Linked DNA regions of Homo sapiens: regions 1, 3 and 4 are each linked to region 2. The links are contacts of gene promoters, found by promoter capture Hi-C in human tissues and cell types (Jung and others, 2019). All regions are on one chromosome and are shown on one strand. Each heading gives the region's core, a stretch centred on a gene start or on the middle of the fragment in contact. The rest is flanking DNA. Distances are from core to core; before and after follow the strand shown. Region 1 has its middle 140 kb from the start of LINC01029. Region 2 holds the start of SALL3 (spalt like transcription factor 3). Region 3 has its middle 380 kb from the start of LINC01029. Region 4 has its middle 460 kb from the start of LINC01029.

Region 1 (3,414 bases), core at 503-3,002, 850 kb after region 2:
AAGAGTCACCTAAAAAGGCAATCAGAAGCCATGTCATTGCTGGCTTAGGGACCCCAAATACTGACTCTTACTTTCAAAGAATCTTTCTTAATGAGATCACTACAGCATAAGCTGGAAAATTGTGTGTGCACACACGTGTGTGTATGTGTGTGTGCATGCGTGTGTGTGAGTGCACAGCTGTTACATGTGTTGTATGTGTGTGTCTCTGTGTGCACATGTATGAGTGTGTACATGTGTGTTGCTTGTGTGTTGTGCGTGTATGTGTAAAGAAAATAGAAAGACTCATCAGAATTTTTATAATCTCTTCTTTCGAAACCAATCATTTTCAAATCATATCTCCAGAGTCTCTCAAGAAGAAAATTATTTTAGGTCAATTAGCTTCTTTTTACTTTAATATTGAACACACACACACACACACACACACACACACACACACAAACATAGCTTAATAAGAATAGACCCAATTCTGCAGGCACTTAAAACATCAGTTTGAGTATTTAAGATGAAATCCAAAAGGAATGCAACAGTTTGCCTAGGCAGAGGTCAATCTTTGAAGGAAGTCATTTCTTAAATCTGAATATTTAATAAACAAGGCAAATGATTAAAATGTTTTAGATGTCAATTTCTGCTGGGGGGAAAAGTACCTTATATAACCTATAGAATACTTTCTGGAACACTGCTTGAGAAGAAGAAGGTAGCATTTCTGGAGCACACAAGATTCTACATACACGTGAGATACATTCTTAAGTATTTTTACTGATGTGGAAAATCAGACTCAACGAGGTTTAATAATTTGCTCAACATCGAGTGAGGGGTGAGGTTCAGATTCAAAGGGGTCCTTTCATCTGAAAAGCCTCTTCCTTTCTGTTCTATGTACCACCTAGTTAATTTCAACATTTTTGTCGTGTGTGTGAAGGTTTTCGTGCATACTGATAGCTGTAATTTGCTCTGAATATTCTAGATGTCTGACACTGGGCTAAGTGTTTGTCATAAACTTTCTTTTACCTTCATCGAAACCTTCAGGTAAAGACAACAGTATTAATCCACTTTGTTACATAAACAAAACAAAAATGCGATCTCGCCTGAGCTCAAGTTCAGCATCAATTAAGAGGAAGAGGAAGGGCTCCACCCCATCAGTTGGATGCGGGAGCCCCGACTGTGTGTGCCCGGAACTCTCTGCCCTCTGGACTCCACCGGGAGACGTTCTGGGGTCTGAGAAAGTGAAGGAGGCAAAGCTAAGTGTTCGCATGCACCTCTGCTTTCTTGAGGGTTCAAAGCTCCAGAGAGCTCGGTGCCTGCCACAGGCCAGGGCCGATGTCCTCTGGTCATCACGCCGTGGTCAGGACAAGCACTCTCTGCCCGTGGTTATCTGGAGGGAAGGCCAGCCTCAAGAGACGCCCGCCTTGCGAGACCTTCACCCCTGACCCTCCCTTAAACCCGGCTCCCTTGCTGGACCTCAGACTCCGCTCTGGAGACATGCTTTATTGCTTTATTTGTTTCTAATTTAGACCAAAGACCCTGCCTGGCCTTCTGTGATGGTTTTGTCCAGTTGGGCATTTTTGTTCTCACCGTGGCTGCTTACTTTTACTGCTTTATCTTTGCCTTTTTATTGAGTGATTTTTTTTTTGTTTATTTTACCTTGTTTGTTTGTTTCTCTTGTACCTATAACTTTTTCATAGGGAAGAAGAAGTGACAGGTGAAGATGAGAAGGTGGCCTCCGGCATCCAAGGGAGGCTCAGCATCACGTCCTCTGTATGGTTAGGGCAGAAGAGCATCAGTCCTTTGCTCACCCAGAGCGGGTCCTGCACAGCCCCTCGTGTAGCCCCACTGGAAACGCTGCCCACTGAAGGGATTCTGGAAATTTCACAGCAAATGCATACTGGCATCATTTATGCCTGCCTTGGAGCCATATTTCCCTTATCATCAGAGGTGAGTCCAAAGGGCTTACTCCAACATGGGAGGTTCTGCCCAGCACAAACTCTGCTTACCTGTTAAGCCCCGCTCCACCTCTCATACACAAGCCCTCTGCAGCAGCCTGGCCAGCGTGTTCCCGAATCCACCTGGGCATGAGCACTCACACTCTCTGTCTTTCATACACAAACTCTCTGCGGCAGCTGAGCCAATGCATTCCTGAATCCACCTGGGTGTGCACACCCACACTATCTGCTTCTCATACACAAGCCCTCTGAGGCAGCCAGGCCAGTGTGTTCCCAAATCCACCTGTGTGTGCACACTCACACTCTCCACCTCTCATACACAAGCCTTCTGAGGCAGCCAAGCCAGTGCATTCCCGAATCCAGCTGGGTGTGCACACTCACACTCTCTGTCTCTCACACACAAACCCTCTGTGGCAGCCGAGCCAGTGCGTTCCTGGCTCCACCTGGGCATGTGCACTCAGCCTTCTCTGTCTTTGCTCATGGGAGATTGTGCCGTGACCGTGTCCAGCTCTCTCTGCTCATCTGTCCTCCCACCTCACTCCTCCTCTGTGTCGTGCACCTCTCAGGACACCTGCTCCCACACCAAGCCTTGGGTCTGACAGCTTTTTGGAGCTCACATGTGCCAGTTTTTAATCTCTGCTTTCATGCATATGTTCATGTAACTGTCAGAATCTACGTCTGCAACCCACTTCCTCCCCACAGGGTTTCACTGACTTACTAAAGCTTATCACATGTTCAATAAGAAAAATGCATGGATAGTCGAGACCACAAAAAGGAAAAAATAAAGCTTATCTGGAAGACAATTTAATCATCACTCTGAAGGGTCAACTTTAGTTCAGAATTTCCTGTGATCCAAGGCAAAAAATCTAAACATAAGTTTTCCAGAATCAATCATCAGGAGGAAGGGATTGTGTGTGTTCTGAAAAGCCCGTGTCTAATGCTACCCATAGACTGTGGTACACACAGTTCAGCCAATGCCATTGTACACACATCTAACCTATGCCTGCTGACATTAGCAATGGGAATTTGGGGCAGTCACTGGCTCTATTTGAAATGCCAGGACATACTCCTGCCCTGTTCTGTCCCGAGGGGTGAGACGGGATTCTCGAAGTTCACTGAAGCCACTCTATTTCTGTCTGCATTGACCTCACTGACCAAACATAAATATTTTATCCCACTCTCCAAGCAGCCTTGGCTTTCCTGAGTTCCTGTCTGAATTGAGAGCATAACTTTGGGATAGGTTTGCCATGTAAGGAAGAAACCACGTTGATCCTGACAGTTGAAAATTGCCTCGTACGTGAGTGTGAGCTTTGGCACCTGTGATGATTTAATGGGTATATCAGATGCCCACGCCTGCCACAACAAATTACCACAAAATGAGTGGCTTAAAAGAACACGAATTTATTCTTTCATAGTGTGATATGGTTCAGATATCTGTCCCACCCCAATCTCAGGTTGAATTGTGATTCTCAGTATT
Region 2 (3,437 bases), core at 543-3,042:
ATTTTATTTAATTCATTAATTCTCCAGCCGCGTCATAAGCATGCTCTCTCGTTCTCATCCGACATGGGTGTCTACCCGCTTTGTCAAACTTTACTCCACTGTGTGGGAAACTCTTCCGCCCCGTTTCCTTTTCGCAGACAGTCTCATTCTCAGAGTAAAAAGATCACCATCTGCCTCCAACAACTTATAACAGGTCAATCATAAAAGTTGGCCTGCCTGTTTTTTTAAGGAGCAAATTATTTTACTGCGAGCTGTGCTGCGGGCTCGGGGTCGTGGGGTCGCCCCTCCTCGGCCCTCTTTCCTGGCGCCCTGGGGGCCCCGCGGGGCGCGCCGAAGCCCGGGCGCCGCCGGCCGAGGTTTTGACTCGACGAAGGGGGTGGGGGCGCCCCAAACTTTGCGGGGCTAAGGCGCCACTCTGGGAAGTCCAGCCCTTTGCCAGTCTCTTAACTTTCGCGGCGCCTGCCCTTTGCTCTTGGATGTTTCGAAGAGGACGCTCCTACCAGCGAAATGACTGCAAAGCCGAGGTCTCCAGCGCCCGGCCTCGGCGGATCCAAAAAGACGGGAGAGAAAAGGCCCGCGCAGACGCTGCAACGAACGCCCCGGAAACACGCCGCGAGCAGGGGCCAGGCCCAGGCCGCCGCCGCTGCGCTCACCCCCAGCTTAATTCCCCGGGCGGCCATTAGGCAGAGCCAAGCCCCCGACCTTCTCCTCGCCTCGCGAGGGATCACAGGCTGCGTCAACGCGCTGGGACACCGCGGGTCACCCGAGGCGGTGCGGGGGCCCGGGAGGGGCCGCGGGCCCCCGAACAAAGCTGGCCGGGCGGCGGGGTCCCCAACCCGCGTCCAGCGGTAGGTGGGCTGCGGTCGCCTTCCCCGCCGCCGCCGGCCTCAGCGTCCTGGCGCAGAGACCCTGGGGGGCGGCGCGGCGGCGGAGGCACCGTGGACTCCCTCCCGCCCCGGCCTCCGAGCCGTCCTCGAGCCGGCCGCGGCCTCGGCGCCCTTCGCGGGCAGCTCCCCGACTCCGAGGAGAGGAGCCAAGTTTACTTCGCCCACAACTCTCTCGGCGGCCGCGCGCGCTCCGGCGAAGTACCCGGGGCCCCGCGGCCGGCCTGGCGCGGGGCGGACGCTTGCCCGCAGGAAGCAGGGAACTTTCTCCCGCTCCCGGACGCGCGCATCCGCTCCCGCCGCACGCGCTTCCCCAGCCCGGACGGGCAGCCCCAGACCCCCCGGCCACCCCGCAGCCCCGGCCCTCACCGTGCTCGGGAGCCCCGTCAGGCGGCAGCAGCTCCTCGTCCGACTTGAGGTGCTGGGGCTTGGCCTGCTTGCGCCGAGACATGCTGCTAGCGGCGCTCGGGCCCCGCGCGGGGCAGCGGCATCAGCGGGGCGGCCGGCGGGGACGGCGCGGGGCGGCCTGGCGGGCGCGCGGCGCGGGGCGCGGGGCGGCGGCGGCTGCGCGGGCCGCGCATGGGGCTGAGCAATTAGGCTGGTGAATAATGCATGGCCATTAGCGGAGGGCCGCGCCGATTGGCCGGGCTCCAGCGGACTCCGGCGGCCTATGCAAATGAGGCCGCGCTCGCAATTAGCGGCCGCGCCGACGAGGAGGGGGCCGCGGCGCCTCGGGACCGGGGCGCGCGCTGCCCGGCGCCGCCTCACATCGCGGGCTCCGGCGCCGCGCTCCTCGGCCGCCCCGGGTGCGGCTGTGGCGGGGCCCGGGTGCGGCGCGGGCCGCGGTGGCCGTCCCTCCGCAGGGCGCAGGCAGCAAACTTTGGCGGCGTCCGCGCGGCGCCGTCTCCGCCGGCGCGCCGGGCTCGCCCCTTTATAGAGTGTCTGCGCCGCCGCCCGCGCCCCCCCCGCCGCCGCCGCCGGGCGGCCCCTCCCGGAGCGAGCGGCCGCGGGCAGGGCTCCGACCCGGCGCCTTTGTCTCGCCCGGGCCGCTCGGGCGCCGCGCCTCCTGTTCCGGGCGCGCGGGGTCGGCCGGCCGCCTTCGCTGCTCCGCCGCGGCTCTCAGCGCCGCTCAGCGCGGCGGGCCCGCCCGGGCTCAGGTGCCCCCCGCTCTCCGGACCTTCTCGCCCGGCCCCGCGTCCCCTCCGCGGGCTTCCCCCGGCGGCCGGCCGGGCTCGGAGGCTCGCGGCCGGAGCGGAGCGGAGTGCGCACGCCGGGGTGGCAGGACTTCGGCAAGACCAACTTTCCGGTTCGGAAGCGGCGCGGGCCGCGCGGCTCCTCCCCTCCTCTCCCTCCCCTGCGTTCCCCCTCCCTTCCACTCCCCCCTCTCCCCGCCCCCCAACCCGCGGGCCCCACCGACTCCGGAGCGCCCGCCCCGCCCGCTGCTGCCACCGGGCCGCCTCGCCCCCGCGCCAGCCCGCCTGGGCCTCTGCGCCGCCGGCGGCTTCTTAAATACAGGAAAGGGAGGGGACCGCAGGGCCCCGGTGTTCCCCACCCTAGTCCCCCTTCACCACGGGCCACCGGGCGCCAGCGGAGTGGGCAGCGAGCGCGACCGAAAGTTCCAACTCCACCAAACTCCCGCGCGCGGCCCACCCTTTCCCGGGATTTCGGGGATGACACGGGGGCCAGGTGAGGGGGCTGCGCACTTCTGGATCGGCCCCACACACTCGGCCCCTGGCGCGGCGCGCTCCCCGCACACGCGCCCGCCCCCTCCCCGCGGTCACACGCACGCGCCCTCGCCCTCGCCCCGCGCGCACAGGCGCGTACTCCCACCCGCGGCCGTGCACCCGCCGCGCTCCTTCCCGCGCGTGTCCTCTCTCCCCGAGCGGCCGCCAGGATGTGCCCCCGGCCCCGTCGTCGCCGCGCCCGCGCCCCTCGCCCCAGTACGTCTTTTTTCGTTTCCTAAATTTCTTATTTTTGTCCTTGCAAGTGGTCCTGTCTGGTGTGAACCGTCAGCACAGATGGCCTCCTGGAGCTTCCCCGAGTCGTTCGCTGGGGGAAGCGGGCGGTGAGCGGCCAGCCCGGGCGCTCCGCAGGCCGCGAGCTCCCGGCAGGGCTGGTGGCGGGGGTCCGCCTGGGGGAGGAATCCCCGCCTGCTCCATCGGACCCGGCCTGGCGCGGCTCGCGGCGCTCGGCGGGCTCCCTTCCATTCTAGAATCTTCCCGCTTGCTTCCCAGCCCGCGTTCTTCCGCCTGCCTTTAATTGTGTAAGTTTGACGAAGTCAGAGCTTTGGGTTCCAGGAAAAGCGCAGGAGGGTCATAGAGGAAGGGAGGGCGCAGGTTGGAGTCAGGTCCAAACAGTCCCTATCGCCACTTTTGAAAAAAAAAAAAAACAACAAAAACCCTTAAGGTTGGTTTTATTTTGCCTTTTGGTAGCGGGCGTATTCATTTAGATTTTTTTTTCAAGACAGGCAAATAAAAGGTGTTTGAAATCTCTAGTTATCCCGTTTAACACACCCATCGATGGCGCTTTTCTAGTTAAGCTACGGGGGAAACG
Region 3 (3,217 bases), core at 567-3,066, 600 kb after region 2:
ATTTCTTCTCCATCTTTTGAAATAACAGAAAGAAACTGACAGTGCTTGACAGTGTTTGCTTTTAAATTGCCTGTGTGGGCTGTGGCGTTCCCACCTCATGGCGTTGAATAGACTGAGGAAGGAAAACCCACTGTTTGCCGCTCCTGCCTTCCTGCCGCTCCTGCCTTCCTGCCGCTCCTGCCTTCCTGCAGCTCCTGCCTTCCTGCAGCAGGAGGTGGTTTTCTGCCCGGCTACCTTCTGAGCAGCACATTGGATTTTGTTCTGTTGTCTGGAATTGTGCAACTGAAAAAACATGAAGACTACGTTTCTAAAAAGTTTTGGTTTGATAGAAAGGATGATAGTGCAAACATTGTGGTGAAGGTATTAAGATAGCATGTCTTCCCTTGATAAAAAAAATTTAAAAATTATAGAAAATGTGTTTAATTTCTGTCCAACTAAGGGTGGATTGAATTGGATCAGACCAAAGTATCTGAACCCATCACACACCCTGTATTATTAAAATTCTAACAACAGCGTGTGAGCAACCAAACTTAAGAAGAGGCCAATGGATGCAGTAAGACTGAACCTCCTGGTCAGGCTGCCTCGGCTCTTTTTAGCTGTTAGAGCTCTTCAGCCAAGCAACGTGCCATGGATCCCTGGAGCAGGGGTCTGGGGCTGCCTGGGTCTAACAGGCTCTGGGGGCCCTGAGCACCCACAGGTGCAGCTGTCCCCTGCTCTTCTCAGAGCCATTGTCTGTTGAGCCCACAACACATCTCCTTTGTGTTCCTGCAGCATTTCTTCCTCCTCTCCATCTCATCTTTTCCTCTCCATGTAACCCCACATACTGGGTGCTGCAGAGCAGGGAGGGAGAAGGAAGGATGGGGAGGGGGAGGGGGGAACACACTTCTTTGACGCTGCCCCCTCTGAGTTTGGCCACGTGACAGTTACTACCCACAGCCCTGGCCTCCCCCTGCTGCCCAACCACCAGCACCCAGGACACCACCCAGCATCTTCTATTGGCTCTCCAGGATCCTGAGGCAGGATGCAGATTTGAAATCAGGGCAAGACAGGAGTGAGGAGGGATAAAGATGTTTGTGCAGTTTAAGGGGCTTGCTGTGCTTGGCATAATACTGCCTATGCTCCAGACAGAGATTTTGCAAACCGTATCTGAATGCTCTTAGAAAGGGCTATGAATTTCTAGACGTAGGAAGCTGATAGGTGTCTCCCTGCAATGTAGCCACTGGGGCTGATGAACCTGTATTTCACTGAAACCACGCTCCAGGGAACCAACATCAGCCTGGAGGCTTTCATTGCCATAGATTTACTTCTTTTGCTATTTTGTCCTTAACACATTTTCCTCTTAAAATCTACAATTGTTTCCACTTTTTGCTTTTTTTTTTTTTTGGAGACCTCAAACAAGCCCTCTGTGAACTAATGGAAGGAAGGCTGGCTCTGACTGCATAGGCCCAAGTTCAAGTGCTCTTCAACGTGTGACCTTGGAGAAGTTTAAGTTCTGTGACCTCAACATTCCTTACTGGGGCAAGGGAATAATAGTGACTCTTTTCCTATGGTGAGACTCTAGGGAGATACAATATTAACAGAGCTTATAGTTTACCAACTTGAAGCTTCTACCTTTCCATACCATTTATATCATCAGATAGAACTGTCAGAAGCTATTATTTGTGACAGCTAACAACTCTCAGGCCCTGTTGTGAAAGCTTTGAGCTAATTTTGATCCATTTTGTTTTACAAAACCCCATGGGGCAGAGGCTGGATTTGAACCCACATCCTCTGTACCCAGTTGACATTGTTGCCTGCTTCCGATCCTTTTCTGCTTTAACTTGTAGATAAGACATGGCCCATTTAGGCAGGTGTGGCGTTCTTCGGGACAGAAAGTTACTTACCATAAAGGACTTTGTTAAATTAAAGCTGCTGTGAATGACTTCTGTGGCCATTCAACTGTTCTGTGGGTCACTGTAGGCTTGAATTTCACATTTGAGAAGAGAAGGCACATGAGGAAGGAAGACCCTGCATTTACATTGATCAGGGCTGTGCAATCGGGAGCTCTGTCTCCATGCTCTTATTTAATGCTTAGAGCATTTTACAGGTAAGAACGGCAGTGGAGCCAGGAGCACAGCTGGCGGGCTGCTGAAAGCGCTGGAGCCAGGTTTAGAAGCCTTGTCCTGGCCCTTTGCCTCATGCCAGCCTCCCTCCGTGGAAGGAACGTTGGAGATATTTTTTCCACAAATATGAAAACTTGGGCCACAAAATGTTAAGTAGCTTGTACATTAACACATCTACATCAGAGCTAAATTATTGCATTAAACTATCTAATTATGTATAAACATTGATACTATGTATCTGATGAAAAAATTCCCCCTTATTTTTAAAAAACAGATTTTTTTCTTGGTTTTCCTTTTTAATTAGGAAGATGCACAAATGCCCAGACACCAGCTCTGGTTGCAGTGGGAGCACCAGCTGAACGTGTCTAGGTGGCTGGGTGGTTGCCATGGAAACGCACCAGGGAGGAGGGAAGAGGCCTCCGAGCCGGGGACCAGAAGCTGAGCGGGCCACATTGCCCTCGTCCACCAAGGCCGGGCCTGGGCTGTACCCAGGGGTAGGAGTTCTCAGCTTCCTCGTGGACCTGGATGTCATTCCCTGCAACTGCAAAAACACACTTTACCACAAAGAAGTGATTGATGGGATTTTCAGACCCGGTTTCTGTAACAATTTGGAAGTGACTGGGTGTATTTAGTCAAAGGTGCTTTCAAAAATATTCATCCAATTTTGACTGGATTGGCCCTTAATATTGATGTTCATTTCACTTTCTTTTTTATCAACTTAACACAGATTATTAGACACAGAAATTGCGTGAAATCACTCCGATGGTGAGAGGTGCCTCACTGTGAAAATGCTGATCACAATTAGTCAACTTTCTGTATCCAGCATGAAGTTATCATGGAAACATCAACATCAGTTCCTGCCTCATCTCACCTTTTTCTTTTTCCCTAAAAGTTTCTGTGGCAACGTTGCCATAGGAAAATATTAGGGTCTGATTTGTTCATTTTCTTTTGAGATACCCAGTTGGTACTTAATGTGAAATAATGTGAGTGGCCTATGAAGACACCTTACCCAGCGTAGCAGATCTCCGGTTAAATTATCCATGGTATTGGAAACTCGCAGGTCGTTGACTATCCCTATTTAATTTGGGCAGTACAGGACATTTCTAATAATTAAT
Region 4 (3,141 bases), core at 389-2,888, 530 kb after region 2:
GGAAATTTCCATTCATTGATAAGTTCTTAAAATAAATGGAAGAATCAGGTTTTTACTGTGTCTGATAATGTGTTGTTTTTGAAATTCAGGTTTACTTCTAAACTATTAATAGTTAACTCAGACCTACCCCCTCTACTGTTAATTACCCGCAGAGAAAGGCAAATAAACTCATGTAGACCAGTATATTACTCTTCCTAAACATATTGGTAGAATAAAAATGCCTATGGAAACCATTGCAGGAAATGCTGAATGCTCGTTTTGTCTCTATCTGCTCTGTTAGATGTTGACTGACAAAGAGTGCAAGGCAAATCCTGTTAAAACATTAAATTAAAATGATAATGAATAGAGATGGTATAATTTTACACCAGAGCTGGAATGGCAATTAAGAATGTATTTTTAAAAATATTTTAAGAAAAAACAATCACACCAGTCACAGAAGAATTATTTTCATAGAGAGGTGGTGGTTGAAATATTAACTAAGATAAGGCGGCAAATGCCAGCTGAGATTTGAGGTTTCCCTTTGGGATCTAAGTGTGAGGACTACAGCAGCTCCCAAGGCTGGGTCTGATGACTTTCTGAGCATGTCGCTTCTACTGTTCCACCCTCTCCCAGGAAGTCTCAGCCAAAGCTGCTTTCTTGTCGCAGCCTGGACATAGGCAAATGTGCATTTAGAAAACGATGGATGCATTTATCAGATTCAAGCAAAGCTTGCTGATACAAATAAACGATTTCATACACTTTGCCCTTTAAACAAAAAGCACAGGCTGTCACAGTAATGTCTGTACTTTGTGTTGCTATTATTTTCAGATAGTAATTCACAACCCTCACAACCCTTCCTGGGGCCCTGAGGACTTGCACTCAGGAAAGACTCCAGGGGATGTGGATGCTTTGCTTCTAAGCCGCTTGATTTCGGTCTTCATAGGAGCTGAAGGCCTTAATTAGTGTAGCCATGGCTGCTCGGCAGACATGTGAAAGACGCCTGCATCTGCCTGCTGTCTAGTGTTAGCCACCAGAAGAAGAAGAGAATGCACGGGGTCCAAGTTGAAGTTTGGGGCTTGGGCTGACAGACGGCGTGGATGATTCTGATGTCATGGAAGGAGCCACTGATTTCAAGCCAGGCCAACTCTCCAAGAACTAACTCCCAAAGATGCCCCATCCTCATGCCCCCATGCACAAGAAATTAATCTGTATATTTTATGTTCTTTAGAAATTTCTCAAATAACATAAAGGATGCATACCACATTATTTATAATTCCCTCAGATACATTAGGTAAACTGATTATGTATCAAAGAGTCTTCCCATTGGTTTATTTTTCTTACCTACAAAATGAGAGTAAGCATTCTTCTCCATAGACTCCATAAGAAAATTGTAAGAATCGTATGAATTAATGCCTGAAAACAAGTAATGTATGACACAGTGTTATCTAGATAACAGTAATCATCGCCACCAGAACTGTCATCCTGCAGACAGAATATAGCTTGGAACACACACACAGCTGTCTTCGTACTCCCATCTGTAGAAATTTGCCTTTTTTTCCATCAAAATGTTCATCGAAGTGTGTTGTATTTTTTCATCATCAATCTCTTTGGAGTGCCCAATCAATAACTAATACAAAGACAGTTGTTTTTGAAGACTCAATACAGCACAGAAGAAAAATGCCCATTAGTGAATATTGCATCAGAGCTGAGAGGTCATTGAGCTGAAATGTCGGAAAGGGATTCAGGGAACTCGAGGGTCTGTGGTTGTGCTCCTGTGGGTCCTGGGTGACAGGATTTCCCGAACAATGTCTGTGAAGGGAAAGGTCAACTTGCGGCGAGACAGAGGACTTGTTGGCAGGGAGAATGCGCAGAGGCTAAGGAGAGGCGGCTGTCCAGCTGTCCTCCGTAAGGACTCAGCATGTAAGCAGTTTTTCTCTTGACTTTTCCAGACTTTTGGACCCAAGTCTTATGCTTCCTTTAGTAATTTTGTAATTCTTGCTTCGTTGTGCCTCAACTGCAGTGGTACATAGAAACTGACAGGTGTGTTGTGGGCTTAAAAAAGAAGCAATTAATAATATATATGTAGCATGTTTATAAATTCTTGTTTCCTGAGCAATTTGTTCAAGCTAATAGTTGGGGGCGGGGGTGGGTGGGTATTAAATTAGAAGGTATTGCCAGTCCTCGTTGACAGTTTAAATTGCAGGGGTTTTATGGAAACTGCGCAACGGCATTCCAAATTGACCACTTCCCCAGCCAGTGGACGGGCCACGGTCAGGCACATGTGCAGTGCCCAGTCTGCACTCTGCCTGGATTCATCTCATTGAATCAACTCAACTCATAAATCCATGTAACTATGTGCTGATTTATTTTTGCGATGCTCTCCTCCCCTGGGGGCTGCCTGGGAAGGTGGCGTGTGGTCTTCCTCCCATGAGCTGAGGGCCTGGCATGCACGGTGCCTCGTGCTCAACAGCAGACGTTTGACCCCCTAGAAGATCTACCACACACCTGGCTGTGGACAGAACTGCCCCCTGCCTGCATGCTCTCCTGCTGGTGGAACTCATTCCAGCCCAGCACTGACCTCCAGACTCCAGCTATTACAATGCCGTATTATCAGTATTATCTCCTAAGAGGACAATGTTTTTTAAGTTTTAAAAGGAGTCCTATTTTGTTACTGAGAAGCATTAACACAAATACATGAATTAGAATTTTCTATCTTTGTAACTCAATCATGAAAAAGCTTGTATGATACATCTGGATTGGCAATGAAAATGTATCTTTTTCTGGGTATTGGAGCATTGTTTCTTTATACCAAAATAATTCTTCACGCATTATCCTAAGATTTCTTTTTTTTTTTTTTTTTTTTTTTTTTTTTTTTTTTTTTTGAGACGGAGTCTCGCTCTGTCGCCCAGGCCGGACTGCGGACTGCAGTGGCGCAATCTCGGCTCACTGCAAGCTCCGCTTCCCGGGTTCACGCCATTCTCCTGCCTCAGCCTCCCGAGTAGCTGGGACTACAGGCGCCCGCCACCGCGCCCGGCTAATTTTTTGTATTTTTAGTAGAGACGGGGTTTCACCTTGTTAGCCAGGATGGTCTCGATCTCCTGACCTCATGATCCACCCGCCTCGGCCTCCCAAAGTGCTGGAAGATTTCTTTTTAATTGTCAG

What was found. Contacts are between HindIII fragments. The study calls those that stand out against the background at their distance.
Region 1: a contact is called between a fragment that was not itself captured here and the fragment with the promoter of SALL3 in region 2, in 4 of the 25 tissues and cell types used here (H1 embryonic stem cells, lymphoblastoid cells, mesendoderm cells and 1 more).
Region 3: a fragment that was not itself captured here is called in contact with the fragment with the promoter of SALL3 in region 2 in 2 of the 25 tissues and cell types used here (H1 embryonic stem cells and lymphoblastoid cells).
Region 4: a contact is called between a fragment that was not itself captured here and the fragment with the promoter of SALL3 in region 2, in 4 of the 25 tissues and cell types used here (H1 embryonic stem cells, IMR-90 fibroblasts, mesendoderm cells and 1 more).

The regions. Positions count from the first base shown.
Region 1 is chr18:78,129,632-78,133,045 of GRCh38, reverse strand. No RefSeq gene overlaps it. Among named protein-coding and RNA genes, the nearest start is that of LINC01029, 140 kb to the right of the region's middle. The HindIII fragment of the contact is 6,643 bases long and covers 1-3,414 here.
Region 2 is chr18:78,978,173-78,981,609 of GRCh38, reverse strand. It overlaps SALL3 (spalt like transcription factor 3), which reads right to left and starts at 1,792. Exons shown (of 3, transcript NM_171999.4): 1 at 1,254-1,792. The coding sequence starts at 1,335. It overlaps LINC01896 (long intergenic non-protein coding RNA 1896), which reads left to right and starts at 1,919. Exons shown (of 5, transcript NR_187297.1): 1 at 1,919-2,570; 2 at 2,872-3,147. RefSeq lists an enhancer at 1-375. The HindIII fragment of the contact is 21,440 bases long and covers 1-3,437 here.
Region 3 is chr18:78,375,521-78,378,737 of GRCh38, reverse strand. No RefSeq gene overlaps it. Among named protein-coding and RNA genes, the nearest start is that of LINC01029, 380 kb to the right of the region's middle. The HindIII fragment of the contact is 3,010 bases long and covers 312-3,217 here.
Region 4 is chr18:78,453,116-78,456,256 of GRCh38, reverse strand. No RefSeq gene overlaps it. Among named protein-coding and RNA genes, the nearest start is that of LINC01029, 460 kb to the right of the region's middle. The HindIII fragment of the contact is 5,065 bases long and covers 1-3,141 here.